2 separate regions of the Homo sapiens genome follow, and region 1 is linked to region 2. The links are contacts of gene promoters, found by promoter capture Hi-C in human tissues and cell types (Jung and others, 2019). All regions are on one chromosome and are shown on one strand. The core of a region is centred on a gene start or on the middle of the fragment in contact, and the rest is flanking DNA. Distances in the headings are between cores, read along the strand shown.

The links. Contacts are between HindIII fragments. The study calls those that stand out against the background at their distance.
Region 1: a contact is called between a fragment that was not itself captured here and the fragment with the promoter of DSG2 in region 2, in 1 of the 25 tissues and cell types used here (H1 embryonic stem cells).

Annotation. Positions count from the first base shown.
Region 1 is chr18:31,291,461-31,298,232 of GRCh38, forward strand. No RefSeq gene overlaps it. Among named protein-coding and RNA genes, the nearest start is that of DSG1, 23 kb to the right of the region's middle. The HindIII fragment of the contact is 5,468 bases long and covers 1,847-6,772 here.
Region 2 is chr18:31,493,121-31,499,953 of GRCh38, forward strand. DSG2 (desmoglein 2) reads left to right here and starts at 5,057. Exons shown (of 15, transcript NM_001943.5): 1 at 5,057-5,176. The coding sequence starts at 5,132. RefSeq lists an enhancer at 4,447-4,586 and a silencer at 4,787-5,256. The HindIII fragment of the contact is 8,335 bases long and covers 1-6,833 here.

The sequences.
Region 1 (6,772 bases), core at 3,331-5,830, 200 kb before region 2:
GAGCTGAGATCAGGTCCTGAATATCTTTACTAATTTTCTGTCTCAGTGATCTGTCAAATATTGTCAGTGGGGTGTTAAAGTCTCCCACTATTATTTTGTGAGAATCTAAGTCTCTTTGAAGGTCTCTAAGAACTGTTTTATAAATCTGGTTGCTCTTGTATTTGGTGCATATATATTCAGGATAGTTAGATCTTGTTGAATTGAACCTTTTGCCATTATGTAACACCCTTCTTTGTCTTTTTTGATCTTTGTTGGTTTAAAATCTATTTTGTCAGAAAGTGGGATTCTGACCCCTACTTTTTCTGTTTTCAATTTGCTTGGCAAATTTTCCTCCATTTCTTTATTTTAGGCCTATGTGTGTCTTCACATGTGAAATTGGTCTCTTGAAGACAGCATGCTGATGGGTCTTGGCTCTTTATCCAGCTTGTCATTCTGTGTCTTTTAATTGAGGCATATAGCCCATGGACATTTAAGATTAGTATTGTTACTTGTGAATTTGATCCTGTTGGATCAAATAATGCTAGTTGGTTATTTTGTAGACTTTTTTATGCAGTTGCTTCATAGTGTCACTGGTCTGTGTATTTCAGTGTGTTTTTGTAGTGGCCAGTAATGGTTTTTCCTTTCCAAATTTAATGCTTCCTTCAGGAGCTCTTAAAAAGCAGGTCTGGTAGTGACAAATTCCCTCAGTATTTGCTTGTCTGGAAAGGATCTTATGTCATTTCAGTCTTACGTTCAGCACCTCAGCATACATTGAGGTCAAGAGATAAATGTGTATTATGGACAACATGGTATATTCATGGTTGTTTTTTCCTCTAGGGCAACCAATCTTTTGTTTCCTGGACCAAACTTGTCTACCTGACTCTTTTCCCCTATGAGATATATAAGATTGTCTTCTGGGTAGCTCATCATTCTCTCATGCATACCTGAATTGCTGGTGGCTCATCCCATACCTACTGAACCTGGAGGCATAAATCTGGGTCAAAGAAAGGGAGACTTCACTACATTTAGATTCATACTTCCTGCAAGTTACTAGATCTTGCATTTTAAGAGAAGCTACAAAAGGAAAGAATACAATTTATGTAGTTACATATTTATTCATTGAAATTACTAAATGCTAAAAGAGATATCCTTGAAAAAGAAATGCTTTAGAAGTTCTAAAATGAAAGAATTGATATCATTTTATTTATTTCCCTCTAGTAACCTTTGAAATATTTTATTTTTGCAATCACGTGAAGTCATTTTTTTTTTTTTGAGATGGAGTCTTGCTCTGTCACCCAGGCTGGAGTGCAGTGGCATGATATTGGCTCACTGCAACCTCCACTTCCTGGGTTCAAGAGATTCTCCTGCCTCAGCCTCCTGAGTAGCTGGGATTACAGGCACCCCACCCCCACCACACCCAGATAATTTTTGTATTTTTAGTAGAGACACGGTTTCACCATGATGACCAGGCTGGTCTCAAACTCCTGACCTCAGGTGATCCACCTGCCTCGGTCTCCCAAAGTGCTGGGATTATAGGCATGAGCCACCATGTCTGGCCATGAAGTCATTTTTAAAAGGTTACATTGATAATTGATATTTGGTTGCAAAGAAAGGCAGATACTTCATCCTAAGGAAAGAGACAAGCAGGCAAAGCTCAACCCAGAAACAAAGCCTTGGTCTGGGAAAACCATATAGTGTGTGCCACTCTGAGCTCTTCCTGGCCCACCCATGTCTGAGATTCAGGGAGACAGTGGTACAAAACTCTTTAGCTTTGAAAGATATTATAATGCATCATTAATTTGATATTCCCCCATAAGAAAAGAGGGCAACATTTTATTTTCTTCACCCCGTATGGCTGCATCCCAGGATCTAGCTCTCCCGAGTGGGACAGTGGGTGTTGTCTGGGGAAGAGCAGTGGTGCTTAAGCATCTGACCAGATCTGCTCATAAACACTTGAATGAATTCCACAAGAAATCACAGAAATGCTTGGTGGTTGAAAGGATGGTCTTTTTAGTGATCCAGGGGTGAGTTTTAGCAGATGGGACCTGTATCGGTTAAAAGATCAGTTACAATTAAAAGGACCAGAAGTACTTTTACTTTTTCTCACAGACTGCCTTTTTGTGCTTCTCTACAATTTGTTTATCAGATTTAATGGATAACTACAACCTTTGGCTAGTTTCCTGGATGGTTCAATATCTCCTTAGAAAAGTCTCCAAACATATCACACTGAAAATCACATCAATACCCTTTGTGCTTTTTTAATTCCTTATGAAGACTACAATTAGATAAAGGCTCATCATTAGCTCCAGAAATGAAACTTCGGACTTTACTCATGCAGCAACAACTTTTTGTTCGTAAACACTGCAAACAGTACAACCTGTGAACCACACCATTGCATTGATTTGCCATTGTTCAATTTAGGTCTTATTGGCCTAATTATTAGGTTCAATTTAGCTTAAGGAGCACTAGCACATCATTTCAGTCATAAGGAGTCTAGTGTGTACAGACTCTTTTCCCTTTTTTTATGTTTTTGAGATAGGGTCTCATTCTGCACAGTCTGGAGTGCAATGGAATAATCATAGCTCATTGCAGCTTCCAACTCCTGGGCTCAAGGAATCCTCCCACTTCAGCCTCCTGAGGAGCTGGAATTAACAGATGTATGTCACTTTGCCTGACTGATTTTTTTTTTTCTGTAGAGACAGGGTCTTACTACATCACCCGGGCTGGTCTCAAACTCCTGGCTTCAAGTGATCCTCCTGCCATGGCCTCCCAAAGTACTGGGATTACAGGCAAGAGACACTACACCTGGCCCAAATCTTATTCAATTGATTCCAACTTTCATTTTTATCACTTCTCCCCAACACCCCTCACCATTTGCCCCTGCCCTATCTATTCCTCTCTTTTCCTTCCCAAGTTTCAACAGTGCTATCCTCCTTAGAACTGCATTACATGCCCTAAAACACTTTCACACTTTCTCTCCTTTCTCTCAACCTGCACTCAATCTGTTCAAGGACCAAACATGCCTAATCGCAGAGAAGCCTCCCCACCCATCAGTCCAGCCCAGCCCAGAGTCTGAGCACAGGTTACTGCTTGCTCTGGGACTTCTCCACCCATTTCTACCTCCCCACCTGCCGCCTCTGCTCCTCGCCCAGTGGACACCCTGAGGCGATCGCCTGCTCTCCCAAGCTAGTTATACCATTATCTTCACTCTCCATCCCTGGAGCCAGTTTTACTGCTCATTGTTCACTAGAGAAAGCAAAAAAAAAAAAACTAAGGCTTTAATTTTCAGAAGGCACTTAACTAGGGAGGAATTTGGATGCTATGGGACAGTCATGTTTAATCCCTTTTGTTTTTTTACCATAACCCATCACAAGAAATACCTTTTACACTCTTACCAAGTGTATATACCTATACACTGAAGAAAACATAAATTAATATAACACACCAGAGGAAGGAACCAAATACACCAAATATATCATATGCAAAATTAATTCCTGTGAATTCAACCACACATTTGAAAAACAATGGGAATTTAGATAGGATGCATGTACTTTAATATATTATGTATATTTCAGTGTTGTAATTATAATAGCCAACACTTATTCAGCACTTGCTCTGTGCCTGGCACATATATTAAATCACTTAATTCTCCTAACACTATGTGGTAGGTGCTGGTATTAGTCCTATTTTATCAATAAGGAAGCTGAGGTACAGAAAGGTTAAATAACTTTCCCGGGGTCACATAGATGGAAGTGATTGGACCAGGGTTTAAACCCAGGCTGACACACTCCACGACTACTACCCTACCTCCTCCATCAGACATGTGTAACTTTATACCACTACGTAAGTTTATGTTCACAAAGTATATTGTTGTTTGTCGGTAATTTAGAGGTTTTTCTAGGTTTTTATGATCAGAGTGATATTCTGGTTTCATCCATTACCTTATAATCTTACTCTCTGCAAGATGAAATTCACAGGAAACATTCATATTCGACAGACTTTTTTAAATTTTGAAGATGGCATGGGCTCTCTTAGTGCAATAAATTGATGTTAATAATTAGCGTATTCTTTCTAATTAAATATAAAACACTGGAATTATATATTACAATAAGAACCAACTGTGGCAGGGTGCGGTGGCTCACACCTGTAATCTCAGAACTTTGGGAGGCTGAGGCAAGTGGATCACTTGAGGTCAAGAGGACGAGACCAACCTGGCCAATGTAGTAAAACCCCGTCTCACGTAAAAATACAAAAAATTAGCCGGGCATGATGGTGGGCGCCTGTCCCAGCTACTACTACAGTAGGATTACAGTAGCTGTAATCCCAGCTACTCAGGAGGCTGAGGCAGGAGGATCGCTTGAGCCTGGGAGGTGGAGGTTGCAGTGAGCTGAGATCGTGCCACTGCACTCCAGCCTGTGCGACAGAGTGAGACTCTGTCTCAAAAAGAAAAAAAACACACACACACACACAACCAACTATGCAGCAGCTACTCTTAATGCAATTTTAAAATTTCCTTTCTCATAAGAAAATGTACTTATTACAAAAATATTTACTTCCTAGAATCACAACCTGTTAGAACTAAAAGCAGCCACACTTCAACCAACCTACCATTTTTCCTTTGTGAAAAAGAACCCTGAGACCAAAAGACATGACAATTCTTCTCAAGGAACAATTTAATTAAAAATGAACAAAAGATGTTATAAAAATTAACCATAACTTTCTGGAATACTACCAAGAAAAGCTGATTTATAATGTCACAAATGATGTGAAACTTTTAAAAATTAGTTCTTTTCTTAAAGCTTCTGTGTTTGAAATATTAAGAATGCATTGTCTTCAAAAATTAACCATAACTTTCTGGAATACTACCAAGAAAAGCTGATTTATAATGTCACAAATGATGTGAAACTTTTAAAAATTAGTTCTTTTCTTAAAGCTTCTGTGTTTGAAATATTAAGAATGCATTGTCTTCAAAGCTAAGTTCTTTTTTTTTTTTTTTTTTTTTTTTTTTGAGACGGAGTCTCGCTCTGTCGCCCGGGCTGGAGTGCAGTGGCGGGATCTCGGCTCACTGCAAGCTCCGCCTCCCGGGTTCACGCCATTCTCCTGCCTCAGCCTCCCAAGTAGCTGGGACTACAGGCGCCCGCCACTACGCCTGGCTAATTTTTTTTTTGTATTTTTAGTAGAGACGGGGTTTCACCGTTTTAGCCGGGATGGTCTCGATCTCCTGACCTCGTGATCCGCCCGCCTCGGCCTCCCAACAAAGCTAAGTTCTATGTGAATAACTTAAGTTGGTCCAAAGAAATAACAAGTCTGAGTATGAATTTATGCTAATTGGGCACACCTACTCAGAAACAAACAAGTTTAACAAGTTCTCACTGAGAATATACATTTAGCAGACCTATTAATTTACCAAAATAATAGTAATATTGACATAAAGCAACTATACCAGCTCACAGGATAATAAGATAGCAGTGGACATAGGACAATGGTCAAATGCTTCCTGAGTTTCATAAGTTTTATTCTAATTCAACTTAGACATGCCTCATAAGCTGAGTGTGAGGTAGCATTTATGGTTATGGCATTATCTGGGAGGTATATCTAAAGGAACAAATATTTGGTTCGGCAGTAAAAGAAAGACCATTTAGCTTTTAGTAATGTCTCAAATTTCAAAATCATTTTGCGGAATCTAGCCAGGTAATGATTTTCCTGAACATTGGACCGTCAATGAATTTGTGAAGGTGATGCATGCAAGAGTTTCCAAAATCATTTTGAAATTAAGGGCTTACTGTTTAAATCAAATATTTACCCCCAAGTTAGAGAATTTGGTGAATAATATACATATAAATACAAATAAATCATCACTTTGACCCGATACTGCTTTCAGGTAGGGGTCTAGTGAACTTTTGTATGCATCGTTCTCACAAATTCAACAGCTGTCCAATGTTCAAGAAAGCCATCACCTGGCTAGATTCTGCAAATACCATCCTGATGTGTAATAGCCCCTAGTAAGCAACAGGCCCTTAGGTATATAAGCAGTTAGATTGAGAAGATGGATAAGACTGTCACAATCTACTCATTTGCTCAATGCTATCAAGTATTGGCTAGTCCTACACATGACCCAAAATACTAGAGCATCAACTTATGTTTTAGCAAATTTAGATAATCTTCAGTTTTAAATGCCACAACTTTCTGAAATTCAAAGACAATTAAATAAACTAAACTGTATACTCCGTCCTTAAAAATAAGGATGTTTCAAAAGATGGTGATTGATTCATTTCCTAAGAATGCAAAAGAAGTGAACATTTCATGTAAAATATACTTTAAAGTTAGGAGTTAAGGAGGTGTTCAACTACGTTCATTAAATTTGAAAATCTTTTTGTCTGCTATCTCTACTGCAGTAAAATGCATATGGTAGATAATCACACTAACAGAATTTCTGATTTTTTATTACATTTTCACTTTCAGTGCTTATATCCCTTTACTTATTTAAATATAAACAACACTATTTAGGTTTACTGCAATACATTTATTCATTTATGAGCTTTGAAAAGTTTAACAAATTCTTCACAATTTCCCATCAAACATATGATATAAGGGGGTAATTTAAATATGAGATCATGGCATTTATGTGGCCAAAAAACACATGAAAAAAAGCTCAACATCACTGGTCATTAGAGAAATGCAAATCAAAGCCACAGTGAGATACCATCTCATGCTAGTCAGAATGGTGACTATTAAAAAGTCAAGAAACAATAGATGCTGGTGAGGCTGTAGAGAAAGCGAAATGATTTTACAC
Region 2 (6,833 bases), core at 3,807-6,306:
CACATATACACACATATACATATATATCTTTTCCCTTCTCCCCTTCCCATTGCAATTTGCTTATTATATCAATTTTCTTATTATATCATTGACTTATTGTATCATTTGTTTATTATATCTGCATTGCCATTTACGTGGGATAAAGGTTGTTTACTCCTAAAAGTACTGTGCGTGGCTTCTCCCCTCACAGGTCTCCCACACAGAACATTTTTGGCGTCACGAACAGGATCTGAAAGCGAAAGCATGCCATTTTCCACCACAAGGACCGGGCTGGGAGGTCCCCATATTCCGGGATGGGAACTCCCCAACTTCTCCTCCTTGGCCATTGAGTGGTCCAATGGAACTGGCCTTTGTGAAAATTGGGAATCTAAATTAGTGCATTTTGAACCATTGGCTGTGCATGAGGTGCTGCAGGGAATCCCAGTTGGTAAAGTGGAAACTGAGGGAATTTACTGGCATGGATGGTGCTTGCTTACTGCTTATAAGTTAATGTGTCAAGATAGGAACAATAAAAATGTAAGCTGGAAAAGGAAAATGCTAATTTGATTTCCAAACTGGCCCTGGCCCAATGCCAGGCCTATGTCTTGATGGATCAGGCTCAAATCTATCAGCCTATTGCTGAAAAGGCAGCTATTCAAGTGGCCCAGTCAGGGTAAAACTGAAGAACTAGTCAGCCAGGGATCAGAACAGGTAAAAACTCAGCTCCTGTCTCAAGAATGGGAAATTAACCCCAGTAAAATTCAAGGACCTACACAAATTGTAAAATTTCTTGGCATCCTATGGAATGCAGGGAAATAGTCCATTTTACCAAAGGCTAAGCTAAAATACTAAAATGTGCAACCCCTACCATTAAAAAGGAGGCTCAGAAATTTATTGCCTTGTTTGGATTCTGGAGACATCATATTCCCCACTTGGGTGACATTTTACAACCTCTTCAGGCAGTCACTAGAAAAGGCTATGACTTTCACTGGGGAGAGGAAGAGAGCATGGCTTCTGAACAAGTTAAACAAGTGGTGCAACTGGCCCTGGATTTATGGCCCATACAAGATGGACCAGTAGAACTGCAAGTAACTGTCCTAGATCAACATGCTAATTGGAGCCTCAGCCAGGAACAAGATAGGAAGAGGGTACCTTTGGGGTTTTGGACCTGGAAACTGCCAGAGGATGGCAAAGTTTATACACCTTTCTAGAAGCAATTGTTAGCTTGCTATTGGGCTTTGCTGGAAATGGAGCACCTCTGCTTCAACCATGATATCTTTATGAGGCTTGAAATTCCTATTATGACTTGGGTCATGAGTTCCCCCAAAGCTCACCGGATAGGGCACACCCAAGAAAGTAGCATCATCAAATGGAAATGGTACATACAAGACCAGGCTAAGCCAAAACCAAAGGGGGTATCACTTTTACATGAGGATATATACAAAACTTGCCAGCTCAGGAAACCACCAAGCAAGTCCTACAGATAGGGAAGGAAACCTCCCCCGCCCAATGGGGCAAATCCTTTAAAGAACTAAGCCCAGAGGATCAGAAACATGCTTGGTTTACTGATGGATCTACCAAATACATTGATGGGACCCGATGCTAGAAGGCCATGGCTCATAACCCTGTTAAAAAGCATAAGCATTTCTGATGAAGGAAGGGGTGGGAGCAGCCAGCTGGCTGAACTAGTAGTGGTCCTCTGAGCTATTCAGGAGGAGGCCAGAGGGATTTGCCACTTGAATACCAACTCTTGGTCAGTAGCAAATGTTCTTACCACCTGGATGCCCCAATGGCAACAAAACAAATGGTTAATTGGGAATGAAGAGGTTTGGGGTAAACAATACTGGGAAGATATCTGAATCCTGGCACACACTACCATTATCACTGTTTTCCATGTTGATGCTCATGCGTCTGTTTGCTCTTGACAGACTATTTCATCAGCAGGCAGATCAACAGGCCAAAATTTCCACCATAACTGCAAACTTGAATGTGGATGAATGGATTACAACATGTTCAAGACTTGCAATGAGAGGCTTTATAATGTATGGTGGTATAATTGATAGTGCTTACCGGGGAGAGTTAAAGGTCATTTTATACAATACCACTCCAGATTCTTTTGCTATAAAACCTCAGATGCAGGTTGCTCAATTGTTAGTGGAACCTTGTCAGCAATTAACCCCTGAGGAAATCTGCCCCAACAGAGGCTACATGCAGAACTGGGGGATTCAGATCCTGGAGCCAAAATCCTGGAGCCAAAATATGGGTACAGCGTCCATCAGGTCCCACCCTTAAGACTGGTGACCTTGTAGCTATAGGAGCAGAAAATGAAGCACACTACAATTTCCTAAAGATGAAAAACAATATCATGTTCCCCTCTGTTTTTGTTATCACATGGAATAACCTATCTACTAATGGTCAGCACCTGTGTCTTTGTGTCTGACGCCAAGATTAAATTCATCAACTGGGTAGCCACCGCTGCAGAGGAAGCCAACCACAGTCAATGTTGGCTATGTGGGAATGAGCTACCTTGGAGAATCCTCCCTGCTAACATTTCTGAATGACTATGTCGCTACCAATGGGACCACAACAACAACACTTGCAATCCAACCTGGACTTTCTTTGACCAAACCAAGCCTTGGTACTCTGGGGTTTCTCCTGCCAGACAATTGTCAACACATGCTCCAAATCAACAACATTACCCCCAATGAAACACAATCTCTTTCCTACTTTTATAACACATTAGTACACTATGATTACAGTAACTCCATTGCTGTCCCCTGCGGGGCCCTCTGGGTATGCGGATCCTATGGGTAGCGATACCTGCCCCCATATTGGATGGGGATATGCACTTGGGGGTGGCCATTAATTCCATTCACCATCCGGGATAATATTCCCCTCCCCAGTAATCTAGATGCTTACAAACATCCCTGGTTAGAATGCATCCGACTCCGTAGGGGTGGTATCCTATCACAGCATTCTCCCCTGCAGCTGATACAATCCTGCTTCAGCAACAAATTAAAACATTAAGCTCACTTCTAAGAAAAGCTCTTAATGATAGTAGCACTGGATGTATGTTGTTATCAGATGAATTTGCTCAGCTATGTACTGTTGTGTTGCAAATGGAAAGGCATTAGATATGCTTACTGCAGCCCAAGGAGGGGTTTGCACCTTACTGCACTGGATGTTATGTGTATATCCCTGACAATTCTCACAATATTACTCTCCTTGCAAAGCCATGATGGGTGTGTTATTAATTTTGCTTTTAATTCTCCTGTGCTTACCCTGTATCTGTAATCTCTATCAACTATGCCTTCCCCATGTATCTGTAGGGGTATTTTCCTGCGATTGAGTATCAGATTGAAGCCGAATGTGGAGGAAAACTTAAATATTAAATTTGAACTCAATTGAACATGGACACAAACAATGGCCACCAAGTCCCAGAACAGGTGGTGTGAGCCCCTTGAGGAATTCATCGAGCGCTGTTTCAAATAAATCTCTATTTAAATTCCTATTTGTTAGTTATTGAAACACAACAGACAATCGCAAACACAAGTTGACCTTTTTGTGTTCCTTGAGTCCAGTCGGGAAGGGCCCTTGTGACTGGGTCTCATGCCAAACAACTTGTTACGATAAGAGCTAGGGTCCCAGACCATGAGGAAACTTCATGAGAATCCTCTGTAGTCTGGTGAGTGTAGTGTCCGACTCTGGAGCCCAGGCTGTTGCTTCCCGGTGTGGTGGTGAATCCTCCACAGTCTGGTGAGTGTACCTATAAATATATCTTTTCCTTCTCCCCTTCCCATTGCAATTTGCTTATTATATCATTTGCTTATTATATCCGCGTTGCCATTTAATTGGGATAAAGGTTGTTTACCCTTAAAAGTATGGTGTGTGTGTCTTTTCTTCTCCCCTTGCGCCTTTCTCGCACAGAACAATAGGCTCGTCCATTACTTTCAGTCGTTACATTTCTTGGAAGTTTCGTAATCCGGTGCTGATTCTAGTGTTTGGATGCCCATACTAAGTTTCTGCTTTTCAAGATGTCAATTTAACATCTCACCTCGCAATCACGTTGTTCTAATTTTAACAATTATTTATTGAACCCTTAAGTTCTAGACACTGCAGAATGCTTTACCTAAGATTTTCCAATTTCGTTCTCAAAACTTCCCCGTGCGTTGGTCGCTATTAACTCCATTTGACAGATCTGGAAACTGGGGCCCAGAGAGGCTAGTCCAGGCCACTCAGCTAGTCACTCTTGGAGCGGGGCCTCTGATCTAGCTAGTGGTGTAATAGAAATTGTAAATCATTTCAAAGAATATATATATTTCCCGTAACACCCTAGAGTTTTCTCCTAGCCCAAGAATTGTCCTTTTTGACCTCTGGTGATTGTTTCTCCTTGAGCCAGATAAGCTGCAAACCTGTTGGAAGCAGTGAAGGGCCATAGGGAAGAGCAGCCTTTGGGGAGACAGCCACCTGAAATTCTGCTCCACAACCTCCGCTCCAGGAGAGCGGGCCGAACGCACCGCGGTCGCAGCTTTCCTGAGGACACGGGTCCCCATGTCACTAGCGACACCTGCGCTCCGGGCCCAAAGCACAATCACAAAGTGCGGGACCTTTGGGCGGTGCTGGGCGGCCTGGCCCCGCAGCCACTGGGCCGGTTGGTCCCGCAGGACTCTGCTCCGTGGAGCTTTTGTCCTTGGGCCGGGGCCCTGCGACCCGCGCTACCCAGGTCGAGCCCCGCCAGGAGGCTCCCTCCTCCCGCCATTCTCCAGAGAGTAGGGGGTCGGGAAGGAGAGAACGGCGGGGCGGGGCCTGCCACCCACAGTCCCCAACCCAAGGACGTCACGGTCCCAGGTGCGAGTGCGAGCGGGCGGGAGTCCACCCCGCGCCTCCCTCCTCTGCTGAACTCCCCACCTCTGTAAAAGCGGCCCGGGCCGGCCCCCGGCTCCATTTTCTCGCGGCGGCCACACCTGGAGCCGCGCCTTTGGGTTGGGCTGGGCTGGGCCGCGCAACCGCCACGGGAAGACAGCCCTCGGGGCGGGGAGGGAGAGGGTGGCCGGGCCGGGGGGAGGCCGGGGCCAGGGAGGAGCCGAGTGCGCGCTCGGGGCAGGCGGCGGCGCGGAGCGGTGCGGCGGCGGGAGGCGGAGGCGAGGGTGCGATGGCGCGGAGCCCGGGACGCGCGTACGCCCTGCTGCTTCTCCTGGTAAGTGCCGCAAGCGGGACAGGGGAGCCACCGCCGGGGAGGGCGTCGGTAGGCGAGGTCTAGACCTCGCGACCAGACTTGCCCGCCGCCCTTGTGCGCGTTACCTGCCCGGCGCTCCTTCCTGCTGCCCGAGGGGGGAAAAGGGCCGGGCAGGCTGCGGCGAGATCCGACCTGGGGCTTCGGAAAATCCTCTTGGCTGGAGCCAGGAGAGTAAGTTGCGACCTATCGAAGTTGTGTTTTCCTTCCCGCGTCACCCAGGCCCCAGCGCCCTTTTCTGTGGTGTGTGGGTGTAGTGAGCCCTGGGGCGGGGAACACCATTGCTGGGGGTCGGAGGCTTTGTTGAGAGTCTCTGGGACGAGAAACGTGGAGGCAATAGGGAACAACCTCGCGCTTCTTCCACGTTCCTTAAATTTCCCTAGGATTCCCCAGCTCCTCTAGCCGCCGACACAAGCCAGTGAACTGGGGAAACCAGGAACATACTTGTATTCTTAGAGTGCAAAAAGTTGGCTAAAAATTTTTTAAAAAGGTGTAATTTACAAAGCTTAATTTTAAGTGGATCACCCACATATAGTTTTAACTTAAAGTTTATGAAGTTGGTGTTTCAAAAGTTTTCCAATATTAAAGATAATAAACATATGTAATAGTTTGAAGCCTTATTCATTTAAAAGGTTACAGAAAATGGAAGTGTAGCGCCCCCTCCCCCACGCCCCACCCCTCACTCCCGGAAACGACGTTCAGTCCCTGGATTTAGAGTTCTTTTGCTCAAATTGGATTTTAAACTGTTGGTTTTCTGTTTGTTTAAGGGGTTGCACGTATGTATCTCGCTTATAGGGGTTTACTAAAGGGGTTTTAATAAAGTGACAGTTATGCTGCAAATATAGGTGTGAGTTCACCTTCCAGAGAGTTCACAAATATGTGTTTACAGAGATTAGATGCAAAATCATACTCAGTTTTCTTACGTAATAATTAAAAATGCAAATACATTCACTATATTCAAAGTTCTAACTTCCAAAACATGAGCCCTTCTATCCTCGAGTTTTGGTGGGATGTGGAAGAAAATCGTGTGTGTGTGTGTGTGTGTGTGTGTGTGTCTCAAAACGGAAAAAGGCGTGACTGAATCCAGTCTAGAGATTTCCATGAACTCTCAGGTGGAAGAGCATGATAATTAGGGCGTCCAGGCCTAGCACACAGTTCATTTTCATGCTCTATTTATCCATTTCATTTTCCCCGTGTCCTTGAGGTAACTTTCAATGAAAATTCATTTTGTTGACAAAACTTTTCTAAGACGTGATCTGGGACGTCGTTTTTAGCCTCTGGGCTGGCAAAACAACTAATCCTGTCACCTTGATGTTTCCTTGTTTAAGGAGAATCCCAAGCTAATGTAACACCTAGCTTACTTTGAGAGTTACATATTCTTTCCATATATGAAAATAAATGACCTTTAATCTTCAAATAATGTAGCAATCAGGCCAATTTGTACACTCACAGAGTAGCAGGTAAGCAAATTAGGCATATCTTTCATTTTAGCAATTTGATACTTTTACCTTATTGGGCAGTAATAAACATCTCCTTTAGAAAGCGACTATAGCCAATGGAACAGGAGCAAAATTCTTGGACTGTTCTATGTATTTTCTATAAAACTTTCTGCAGTATAAAT